Linked DNA regions of Homo sapiens: region 2 is linked to region 1. Evidence: promoter capture Hi-C in 16 types of primary human blood cells and fetal thymus (Javierre and others, 2016). All regions are on one chromosome and are shown on one strand. Each heading gives the region's core, a stretch centred on a gene start or on the middle of the fragment in contact. The rest is flanking DNA. Distances are from core to core; before and after follow the strand shown. Region 1 holds the start of HERC1 (HECT and RLD domain containing E3 ubiquitin protein ligase family member 1). Region 2 overlaps DAPK2 (death associated protein kinase 2).

What was found. Contacts are between HindIII fragments. The CHiCAGO score rates a contact against its expected background, and 5 or more counts as called.
Region 2: a contact is called between a fragment that was not itself captured here and the fragment with the promoter of HERC1 in region 1, in 1 of 17 cell types (megakaryocytes). The highest score is 5.2, in megakaryocytes.

Annotation. Positions count from the first base shown.
Region 1 is chr15:63,831,685-63,837,281 of GRCh38, forward strand. HERC1 (HECT and RLD domain containing E3 ubiquitin protein ligase family member 1) reads right to left here and starts at 2,264. Exons shown (of 78, transcript NM_003922.4): 1 at 2,143-2,264. RefSeq lists enhancers at 1,420-2,285, 2,286-3,149, 2,323-2,452 and a silencer at 1,653-2,082. The HindIII fragment of the contact is 17,710 bases long and covers 1-5,526 here.
Region 2 is chr15:63,911,031-63,916,554 of GRCh38, forward strand. DAPK2 (death associated protein kinase 2) reads right to left here. Exons shown (of 12, transcript NM_014326.5): 10 at 1,078-1,167; 11 at 878-961. Among named protein-coding and RNA genes, the nearest start is that of MIR422A, 43 kb to the left of the region's middle. The HindIII fragment of the contact is 4,113 bases long and covers 1,698-5,524 here.

The sequences.
Region 1 (5,597 bases), core at 1,014-3,513:
CTTTTTTGGGGGAAAACATGCTTGGAACGTTGGAATTGTTATTACTATTTATTATTTGCACCCTCTACTAACCCAATCCAGTCCAATCACCAACACATTCTCCAAAATTTCTTTAAATTGAGATTTTCAAGAGATGTTTATATTAATAAGCAGATTAAGTGACGCATTTACATTTGCTTTCTCTTCCATGCAACATCAGGGTGCCTGCATTGGAAATGGAATACATGACCAGCAAATGAATGGATGTGTCACATGCAAACAGCATGACTGGAAATTTAAGAAGCAAAATGATAAGAACCTTAGGGAACGCAAAATTCATAAAAGTTTAGAATTACAAGAGGCCTTAATAGGCCATTTAATCCATTCCAATAACAACAACCCCAGATGACAATCTATCCTATTTTTAAAAGGCTCCAGATTTCCAACCTCCCTAGATATCTCATTCTGCCATACAACCTTGTCATGTGATTTGGGGGAAATATTATGACTGTTCTTTGCCCTTCCTAATGCTATCTTTTCTCAAATAATATAGCAATACATCTTAACTCACTTCCAAGATATATAAATGTGTATAGGTGCAGAATACGTGTGTGTGTGTGTGTGTCTCTATACATATATACGTACATTTATGCATAAGACAGGCACCTAGGACATTCAATTTTGCTTGTATAAACGCAGGCTATGGAAACACATATATCAAAGAGACATACTCATCCCACACTAATCACAACAGGCACTATGAAACAATGTCACAGAACAATTTTGGTCTAAAAATATCCAGTAGAAATCAATTTCATAAAACCTGAGGTAAATAGGTTTCTTCCCACTATGAATAATCATAGTTTCTTTCCCTTCTACAAATACTGCCCCATTTTGAGCAACCACCACTAACAGAATTGTAAAAATATAATATATACATAGGTACTAGACCCAAACAGACAATGTTTTAACGTTTGATTTTTCAAACCACTTAGCTAACAATCATTTTGGAAAAGGGCCCAGTGAAAAAGATAGTGATGGCAGAGTTCAGCCAGTGATAATGAACTAGCAGCCAGTTTTAATCAAGCAGGCCAGAGAACTGATTCAAATAAAATAAATCATTTTTGGAACAAATATAGAATGAGGAAGTCCCAAGCAAGGATAAAAAAAAATGTGTCTGTTAGGAAATACAATAAAATGTTAACCATGAAATGCCACCTCTGGAGATGGAATTACAAAGATGGGTTAGTTTGTTCAGATTTGTTATTCCCATCATTTAATTATCTCTATATTCTAAGTATTATAGACATTTCTTAAACTAAGACAAATCTGTCCCTGTGTTTCACAGCTCTCTAAGATAACATGTCTTTTACATAACCTCCTGGGAGAGGTGGTACAAGCTCCTGTCCTCCTCGTGTCTCCCAGTAACCTGCCACCCATCACAGAACAGATTTCACCATGTTCCCCGGGGTAGCTCCTGTCATCACCATCATCATCCTCATCTCACGCTTAAGACTAAACAATGCGCCCCGCCTCGCCTCCCGGTTGCAAAGGCTTTATAATTTGTTGTTTTATTGGGGCGGGAGATTTGGAGAAAGGTTTAGCAGATGATGAGCTGCCCTCACCCAAAGGCAGAGGAGAGGAGGAAGACACGTCGTCCCAGCCTCCACCCCGCTAAAGGCGGCCGGCGCCTGGGGACACCGGGGTCGCGGCACTCCCCGGACCCTGAGAGGGAGTCGGCCGCCGCCCGCGGACCGAGCCCCAGCCGGGGCAGAGGAGCTGGTCAGCAGATAAAGGAATGAAGCAGAAAGAGACGCGACCACAGCGGGGCCGGGGCACAGACGTTGTAAGCCGCTGGAGGGGCGGGTCTCTCGGCCCTCTCCGCGGGCGCCTCGGCTTCTACGCTGCTCCGAGGCGCCCGGGCGGCAGGAGGCCTCTAGAGCCGGGGACCCGGGGGATCCGCGGCGCGCCAGGAGGGCTCCCCCAGCTCGCCTGCCGCCCACCCGGGACCCCAGCAGCCCCGCTCGGCTGCAGTCCCGAAACGGCCCCGGCCGGCCCTGCGCGGCCGGCAAAGCACACACGCGCGCGCGCACACACACACACACACACACACACACACACACACACAGGACCAGGAGGACGGTAGATGATGCGTTACCGTACGTGGCTCTGGAGCTGGCGGGGTGGGGCGCGGCTCCGGCGACCCGAGCCCGGCTCCGCAGAGGCTGCGGCGGTCGCGTCCTTTATTTTTGCTGCAGCAGCAGCGACTTGTCAAAGGGAAAGACGTAAGAGGCGGCGGCAGCAGCGGCGGCGTCAGGCGAGTCTCACGAGATTTGGGCGGAACTCTCGCGCAGCCGGGAGCCCTCGCCCCGCCCAACAGGCCCAGCGCGGGAGGTGAAAGGGGAACCGAGAGGAAGGCGGCTGAGGTGGAGTTGGGGGTTGAGCGAAAAGGGGAAAGGGATTTGGGAGCGAGGGGAGCCAAGCTAGGTGCTGGGGACACTTTGCTACCGCGCGGCCCTCACCCTTCAGCCGTCGCGGAATCCGGGCAGCCCCGACCGCCTGCGGGGACCTGACTCCACAGATGAAGCACAATTGGGGGCGTTTCACAAAGGGTGGTGAGGAGTGGGGGGCCATGCAGTGCGCCCCCTTTTCCTCGTGGTGGGCAGGGAAGACCCCGCCGCCAGGCGAAGGGACACGTGTTACGGCCGGCGGCAGGGCCAGGGCCTCACCCCTTTATCTCCGCCTCGCACCCGGCGCCCCACGCTCTTTATCTCTCATCGCAGCGGCCCCGGCCCTCCGGCCGGCTAAGTTCAATCACATAAAAGCGTTTCACTTGACCTACTCTTCCACCTTGTTCATGTCTTTGCGCCTTATGGGACTGCCAGAACCCTGCAGATGCCAGGGCCTGGCTCCTCGGTTTTCTTTTCTGCTTGGGAACACAGTAGTGTCCTTTGGGTGACTTACATCCTTGATCATGACCTCGACCTCCACGTGAAACCCCATGAGGGGAAGGACACAGACTGGCTCAGTCCTCACCATATCTCCAGCGCCTAACATAGGTCCAAGTGGACATTAAATTGTTGAGTGAATACCCCATCTCCATCTTCCTCCTTCTGTACCTGGTTTTACTCCTTTCCAGCCACCTTCATGGTGTCTTTCCTTCCAGATATTCTAACGAGCATCAATTAAACTGACCGATGACTTGGGGACAAAAAATAGAGTTGGCCTCTGCGTTCCAGAAGTTTGCAATCCAATTGGAGGCGTAGGAGAAGCACACAAACATACAAGCCATGAATGTGTCACTAATGTAAGAAATTACGGTATAGACAGACGAGGGAGTGCTTTCCCATGGTTAAATTAGATACATGTTTGTGTGTCACATGAGGCAGTTTAGTCCAAGAGTTAGGAGCCATGTGCTTCACTGTCAGACACTGGTGGGAATTCTGGAATCCCACTTACCCCAGGTGTGTGACCTTGGGCAAGTTGCTTGACCTCTCTGAACCTCAGTTCCTTATGTGTCAATTTATAATGCCAGTTCTTGTTATCACAAGGTTCCTCTGAGGAGTAAAATATATGTAAAGCTCACATACGGCACATATTAAGTACTCATTAAATGATGGGTCTTAGGTGTGTAGCTTTTAAGTTTCTATGTATAAAATGTGTATTTCTGGTAAATGATGTAAGGGAGTAGCTACATGAGGAGTGATGTCATTGTTGCTAGTGCTTTATGATCTGGGTATTGTGTGTGAAGCATACTCAAAAACAACAAGCAAAAGCTCCTCCTTTTAACTTGTTGATGTCATCTACGTCACTCACAAATATGATATTCTGTCTTTCTTGAATTTGTAAAATTGTACTGGTTTTGCCCACTTTTTCTTTTTCTTTTTTTTGAGATGGAGTTTTGCTCTTGTTGCCCAGGCTAGAGTGCAATGGCACCATCTTGGCTCACTGCAACCTCCGCCTCCCAGGTTTAAGCGATTCTCCTGCCTCAGCCTCCCAAGTAGGTGGGATTACAGGTGTGTGCCACCATGCCTGGCTAATTTTTGTATTTTTAGTAGAGATGGGGTTCCACCATATTGGCCAGGCTGGTCTCGAACTCCTGACCTTGTGATCCGACCGCCTTGGCCTCCCAAAGTGCTGGGATTACAGGGGTGAGCCACCGTGCCCAGCCTGGTTTTGCCCATTCTATTTCAAGAAAAGGACTGCTTACTTTAAAGACCAATCAAGAGACTCCCTCTTTTACCATCTCCTTAGCTTCCACCCTCAGAGCTGTGTGTAAAAGAGAATTGAATACAACTGTGTTCAGTTGCATACAATTAGCAAATACTGTTAGTGTCAGCAAGTGAGCCCTGACTACTAGCCACCCTCACCTTGACCACACCACTCTTTCCCAAAACACTGTTTTTTTCTTTCTTTCTTTTTTCTTTTTGAGGTGGAGTCTCACTCTGCTGCTTAGGCTAGAGTGCAGTGGCGTGATCTTGGCTCACTTCAACCTCTGTCTCCCGGGTTCAAGCGATCCTCCTGCCTCAGTCTTCCTAGTAGCTGGGATTACAGGTGTGCTGCACCATGCCCGGCTAATTTTTTTATATTTTAGTAGAGACAGGGTTTCACCATGTTGCCCAGGCTGCTCTCGAACTCCTGACCTCAAATGATCTGCCTGCCTCGGCCTCCCAAAGTGCTGGGATTACAGGCGTGAGCCACCGCACCATGCTTAAAACACTGTTTCATACTCAAATCAGCATATCCTGGAACCTTGTTGTCAGCATTAACCTCCCAACTCTACCAGTTCATTTTATTCAGATTTCCCTAAAGAAAAATGTTGGAGATGGGAAGAGTGGATGGAGGGATCTCAGAGCCACAGCCAAGTCCTAAGCATCACAAGCCCTTGGTCTGATAGCCCTCTGAGCAGCATACCCTGGCCATACCAGTCAGCCACATCTTCCTCCCCTCACGTATGTCACCCCCACTTCATGCCTCATACTTCACAGCACCACACCACAGCTGGGAGGTCCCAGGCAAAGGAACTGGAGAATCAACAGTAGAATATATATTTTTCATCTTTCATCTGCATTTAGGAAATGTGCAACTCCTAGATAAAAATCAGGGCTAAGTTTGAAGTGAAGAAATCCAGCAGAGCAGTAAAGTGTGGAGGCAGAGCAGCAGGGGTAAACAGACACTGGGAGTAAGTTTGTGTTGCCCTTGGCACTTGGCTCAGGAAATATATCACTCTGAAAACAGAAAAGAGCTCCAGAGCAGGAATCCATGGACATGAGTTCTGGTAGCTCCAGAAATTGCAGCCTAGTTGCCCTGCCATTACACAGTCTTTCTGAGCCTAGTCTCACATCTGTAAATAGGGGTAATAATAAAACCCACTGCCTGCCGGAGAGTATCATGGGAGTCAAATAACATAAGAAAGTACTTTGTAACCATATTTGTAGCACTATTTAAATGTGAGGTATGATTATTCATTCATTCATTTAACAGGTCTTTGTGGAATGCCTATCATAAGTCAGGCACTGTGCAAGGCACTAAATATACTATTGAACAAGCTTAAACACCTGCCCTCAAGGAGCTTATGGTCTAATGGGAGGAGAGAGGGAAGAAAATAGATCGATATA
Region 2 (5,524 bases), core at 2,504-5,003, 81 kb after region 1:
CCAACATGGAGAAACCCCATCTCTACTAAAAATACAAAATTAGCTGGGTGTGGTGGCGCATGACTGTAATCCCAGCTACTCAGGAGGCTGACGCAGGAGAATCGCTTGAAGCCAGGAGGCAGAGGTTGCGGTGAGCCGAGATCGCGCCATTGCACTCCAACCTAAGCAATAAGAGTGAAACTCTGTCTAAACAAACAAAAAAAAAAAAAAAAAGAAGAAGAAGAAGAGGAAGAATATGTCATTATTTAATCTTTAGGAACTATTATTAACCCTATTTTACAAATGATGAACTATCAGCACAGAGAGGTTAAGTAATTTCCTCAAGGTCACACGGTAAGTGGCAGATTTGAATCCTGGTAGTCTGACTGCAGAGGGCACCCTCTTCACCAGTATATTCTGTTATAAGCTACTCCCTTTAAATGTATACAAAATGGCAATAAAGTAATCAAATATAAGATATTGTCTAAATATTATGATGATGGTAATCTGAAACAAAGCAGAAATAGAAATATGGAAAAAAGAATGTAAAGCTCCCATTCTAAAGCAGCTTTTGGGTTATCAGAAATACATTTTGGGTTGTCTGTGGTCAGCCGGCAGCAGCGGCCCCTCTGAAGGCCCACCAGGAAAGGATGGGAGATCCTCCAGGAGTTCATGCTGCTGCATCAGTGGTCCCCTCCCGGCACCACCCAGAGGTCCCCAGAACACACTCCTCTGAAGATCACACTTCAGCCTTCAGGGAAGAGGAGGACTGGGCCAGCAGAACTGGCTGGAAACAGTGAACACCCACCTGCCTTGTGAGGGGAAAGGGAACTCACCCATCCCTGAGCTCCAGGCTACCCCAGAATTCTGCCCAAGAAGAGGGCATGCATTTACCCACCAGGTCCTCATCCGGCCTCAGGTGCACCTTCTTCATCAGCGAGCGGGTGAGGTGGTTGCACAGGGACACGATGCTGAAGGAAAGCTGAGGGAGGCAGAGGAAAGGAATCCCCAGGTGAGAATGTGCATGGAGACCCTGGAGAGCCAGAAACCCCGCCCTAGCCCCCACCCTGTCCCCCGCCGCCCCAACCCTGGACACACCTTCCACCGCCTGCGGACATACTGCTTCCTGAAGTTCTCCAGATTGACCACAGACTCCCTGCGCACCATGGCTTGCTGGTTGTCCACCGGCTGAGAGACAAAGCAGAGCATGGCAGCTGATGCTGGGCTTCAGACAGCAGCCACCCTCCTCGCCGCAGAACTCCCCACCCACCGCATGCCCACCGCCCTTGGCTTGACCCTGGCATCTCCCCGCCAGGTGGGGCACACCGTGGGAGCATCACAGTCAGGGCAACAGCTACACATGTCTCAGCTGTTCAGGAGTTGCCTCTCAGCTATTATTACCACAGCCTGACACACACACAGCCTTGGCTGGAGGCTCAGCAGCTCCTGAAGGGGAATAGCAGGAGGCAGGCCCTCCAATCGCACATCACTTTGGGGAGAGGGTCATTTTACAGCAGTCTGGGATGCCCTCTGGGCACTGGGGTGATTCTGGGCTTGGCAAAACAAATGCCTTGTTGGTAGACGGGGAATTCATACTCCATTAAAAAATAAATGGAAGGAAATAAGGGCTTTGATGAAAGTCAAGAGGCAACAGGATGTGCAGTTGCTTTTCACAGCCTGGCAGTCAGAGCTCAGCTTAAATTTTGACTTCTCCAAGAAGCTTGGGATGGCTTCTCTGAGCCTCAGTTTCCCCATCTGTAATATGGGGATAATAATATCATGTCACAGGGTTGTTAAGGATTATATGATCATGCATATATAAAGTGCTTAGCCCAGCACCACTCAATAAATAGTAATAAGTTATTGTGAGCTTTCCTGCGTTCTCCATTCCCTTTTCAACACCCCCCTTTTGTAAAATAAGGTTTTGTGAAATCAAGAGATAGGTTTCAGGGGTTCTGTGAACAAAATGTGCCTATATATCCATACAAAGGAATATTAGTCAGAAATACTATTCATAAAAAATTGAGTCCAATACATTTTACAACACGGATGAACCTTAAAAACATTATGTTAAATGAAAAAAGCCAGACACAAAAGGCTACCTGCTGTATGATTCAATTTATATAAAATGTCCAGAACAGACATATCCGTAGAAACAAAGCAGATGGGTAGCTGCCAGGGGCTAGGGAAAGGGGAAAACAGGGAATGGCTACTAAAGGGTATGACATTTCTTCCTGGGGTAATGTAAATGTTCTGGAATTAGATAGTGATGTGGTTACACAACCTTGTGAGTATACTAAAAACCACTGAACTGTACATTTTAAAATGGTGAATTTTATGATATATAAATTATAACTCAATTTTTAAAATTTAGTATGTATGTACAGACATGCATTTCTTTGGAGGAGAGTCAATAGCTTTTATCGATTCTCAAAGGCCCCCATGACCTCAAGAAAATGAACTGCCTAGAATGATTCCAAAGGTCCCGGGCAGCTCTGGTTTTCTCTCTGCTCTGACAGCCTTCCTGCCGCAATGCCTCATTCACCTGGTGAATGCTAAGCGAGGGAGCCTATTGATTCCCAGGCGTGGGTCTTGTCTCCTAACCATGCTCGGAGCACACCTCCACGCTTGATTTTTCATCATGGCATCAGGGACCGGAAGAAAGCCAGTGCACACTGCTGGCCACGCTGCTCTGGAGCTGGCAGCCTCTGGCAGGAGGTCCATCCCATGGCAGCCCCTGCTGCCCATCCCCCTGGAAGGCCTTCAAGTATTTCAAAGCCCAATTCAGACATGATCTCCTCCAAGACAAATTCCAGAAAATCATGTCTCCCTCCCTGACATGAACAAGGCACATGTATGCTCCTTTATGAAGTCCAGCACCTCTCAGAACCAGCCTTGCAGAGGAATCACCCCACTCCTGGAAAATGACTGGAGGGCACAGACTTTCTTCCTGTCTATGTCAATGCCCTGCCCTACTCTCCTCCCAACCCGGGACCTACAACAGTGAGTGCTTAATAGTTGTATGGTTAAGTCATTTCCCTGAGCTGTTGGAGAGATAAGTTGGAATGAAATCCCAGGACCTGGGACCTACTCACTCCCACTGATGAGGGGCCCAGGTCACCTGGTCAGCCCAGTCACACCACCTTGAAAGGGTGTCAGGGCACAAAGGTTCCCCATGGCTCTGCCCAGGAGTCAGTAGGATGTACAGCTCCGGGGCGGGGGGTGGGGTGACCCAAAGCTGGAGGGGGAGTGCATGCAACCTGGAAGTGGATGGGAGATGAGAAAACCTGGGGCTATTCACCCTCCGAAACTGAAGCACAGTGCTTTTGGGCCAAAGAGTACAGAAGGAAAGAGAGGAGGGGAAGGAGAAAGACAAGGAATGGGAAGAGAAAAGGACAAGGCTGCCGGAGGAACCAGCAGGCCATGTCCAGCCCTCTAGATCCTGTCTTTAACTGTCTGTCACCCACTCTGTGCACCTGCAAGCCCAGCCCTGGGTCTAGTCCCCCCCTGGAAGGGAGGCACAAAAGTGGATGGAGGGTGACCAATCTGTGCTGAAGACCTTGCCTTTTCCCTTCTCCAAGCCTTCCAGTGGCTTCCCTGTGCCCTCTATACATCCCCACGAGCTCATGGAGACCCTCAAGGCCTGTACCCTCCACCCTGATTTTCTACCTCTCTGCTTCCTGTCCATTTGGCTCCCATCGCACAGGTCCACTTGCTGGTCTGTGAATCCAAAGTCTCCGGGTCTTTGCCCTTGCTCTCTCCTATACTCACTTTATCACCTTGTTCAAGTCTTTGCTCAAATGTTATCTCCTAAGGGAAGCCTTCCTTGACCACCCTATATAAAGTAGCAAGCCAACTTCCCCCATGATTCACTATGCCGGGGCACTAAATCTTCATTACACGTGGTGCTACCCAATATTCTATTCTGTATTTATTCACATTCAGTCCTCAGTATCCTTGAAGGGTTGGTTCTAGGACTGCCGCAGATACCAAAATCCATGGATGCTCAAGTCCCTTATTATAAAATGGTGTGGTATTTGCATATAACCTACACATACCCTCCCCTAATGCTTTAAATCATCTCTAGATTACTTATAATAGCAAATATGATATAAATGCTATGTAAATAGTTGTCACACTGTATTATTTGCATTTATTATTGTAATGTTATTTTTATTTTTACTTTTTGCGTATTTCTGATCTGTGGTTGACTGAATCTGAGGATGTGGAACTTGCAGGTAGGGAGGGCTGACTGCTTGTTTTTTGTTAGTCCTCTCTCCCTTGCACCTCCAAGCTCCTAGAATCTCGTTTCCAAGGTGCTTAGCACCCTCCCCAACCCATCAACCATTTCTAAGTCTAACTTCACTGATGTCTGCAATTCCCCTGGGCATGAATGACCTTTGAGCCTAACCCTCACAGGGGCACCTGCACCTCACAAGGAGAGTTTGCTCAGATGGGATTAGTAGACTCTGGGGGAGAAGAGATTTCTTTTTGCCCACTTACTGATTGGCACCCTCACCCAGGGGAGGAAGAGCTAAGCCCATGGCTGGAAGGTCAACTTGCAGGTGTGGGGAATCTCGTTAATGAGAATCCCACCCTCCTCCTGGCCCAGCAGTGCCAGCCACTGAGCAGAGGGGCCCAGCTAAAATGTCAGGTGAGATCATTCCCAGAGGCTATTAATGGGAGGTGATGCAATTCTTTTGAGGGCCCTGTTTATAGCTACACACAACACCACCAACCCTGAGGAGGCAGCATGGGGCTATCATTCTGTCAGGCTGGCCTTTCCTAATCAATGGGCCTTCCTGGTTGTTAAGAGCCCCACCAAACGCTGATGCTGACATCTCAGCCTGGAAAGATGTAAATTCTGCAGCAGAGGTGAAAATTCTGCAGCAAAATTGTTCCCAGAGGGAATGTGGCACAAACACTTTTGATTCGACTTGGGGTGTGAGGGGGAGATGGAACTGTGTCCTGCCTTCTCCTGACCCGCCCCTCCCTGCAAACAGAAAGTGCCCGCCTTCTGGCCTTGTGGTCCATCCGTGATACCAGGGAGCCCTGGGTGATTCTGACCAGGCTCCTAGGAGTGTGTTTGGTGTCTTGGAAAAATGTCCAAAAGGGAAGCAAGAAGACAGAAAACTGTGGGGTAGTCAAGTTTTGTTTATGCAGCTGCAAATGCCTTTGAAAAAGTCCAGTGGGGTGTGCCAGGTCAGTACCAACATCCACAGGCAGGGGCAGGAAGCAGCAGCCGCTGCTAAGGCATGAAAAAGGAATCCTGGCTTTACTGAAGAGGCGACTCCCCCAACTCCACCCCCCACACAACGATTTTCTCTAGATACTAGGTCTTCTTTAGGAACTGCAAGCAGATTGCACCTCCAACCCCCATCTGTGCCATCTCTCCAGCCCCTTACTCCAGTGAAAGCCAGGGCACTCTCACACCCACTTCTCTCCTGCCCAGGACCCCTCCCCGCTGCCCTTCCCTCAATGGAGTTTTATAGGTGGCACCCCTCCACCCCTCCCCTTCGCTGGATGTTTTGATGGCTGAAGCCTG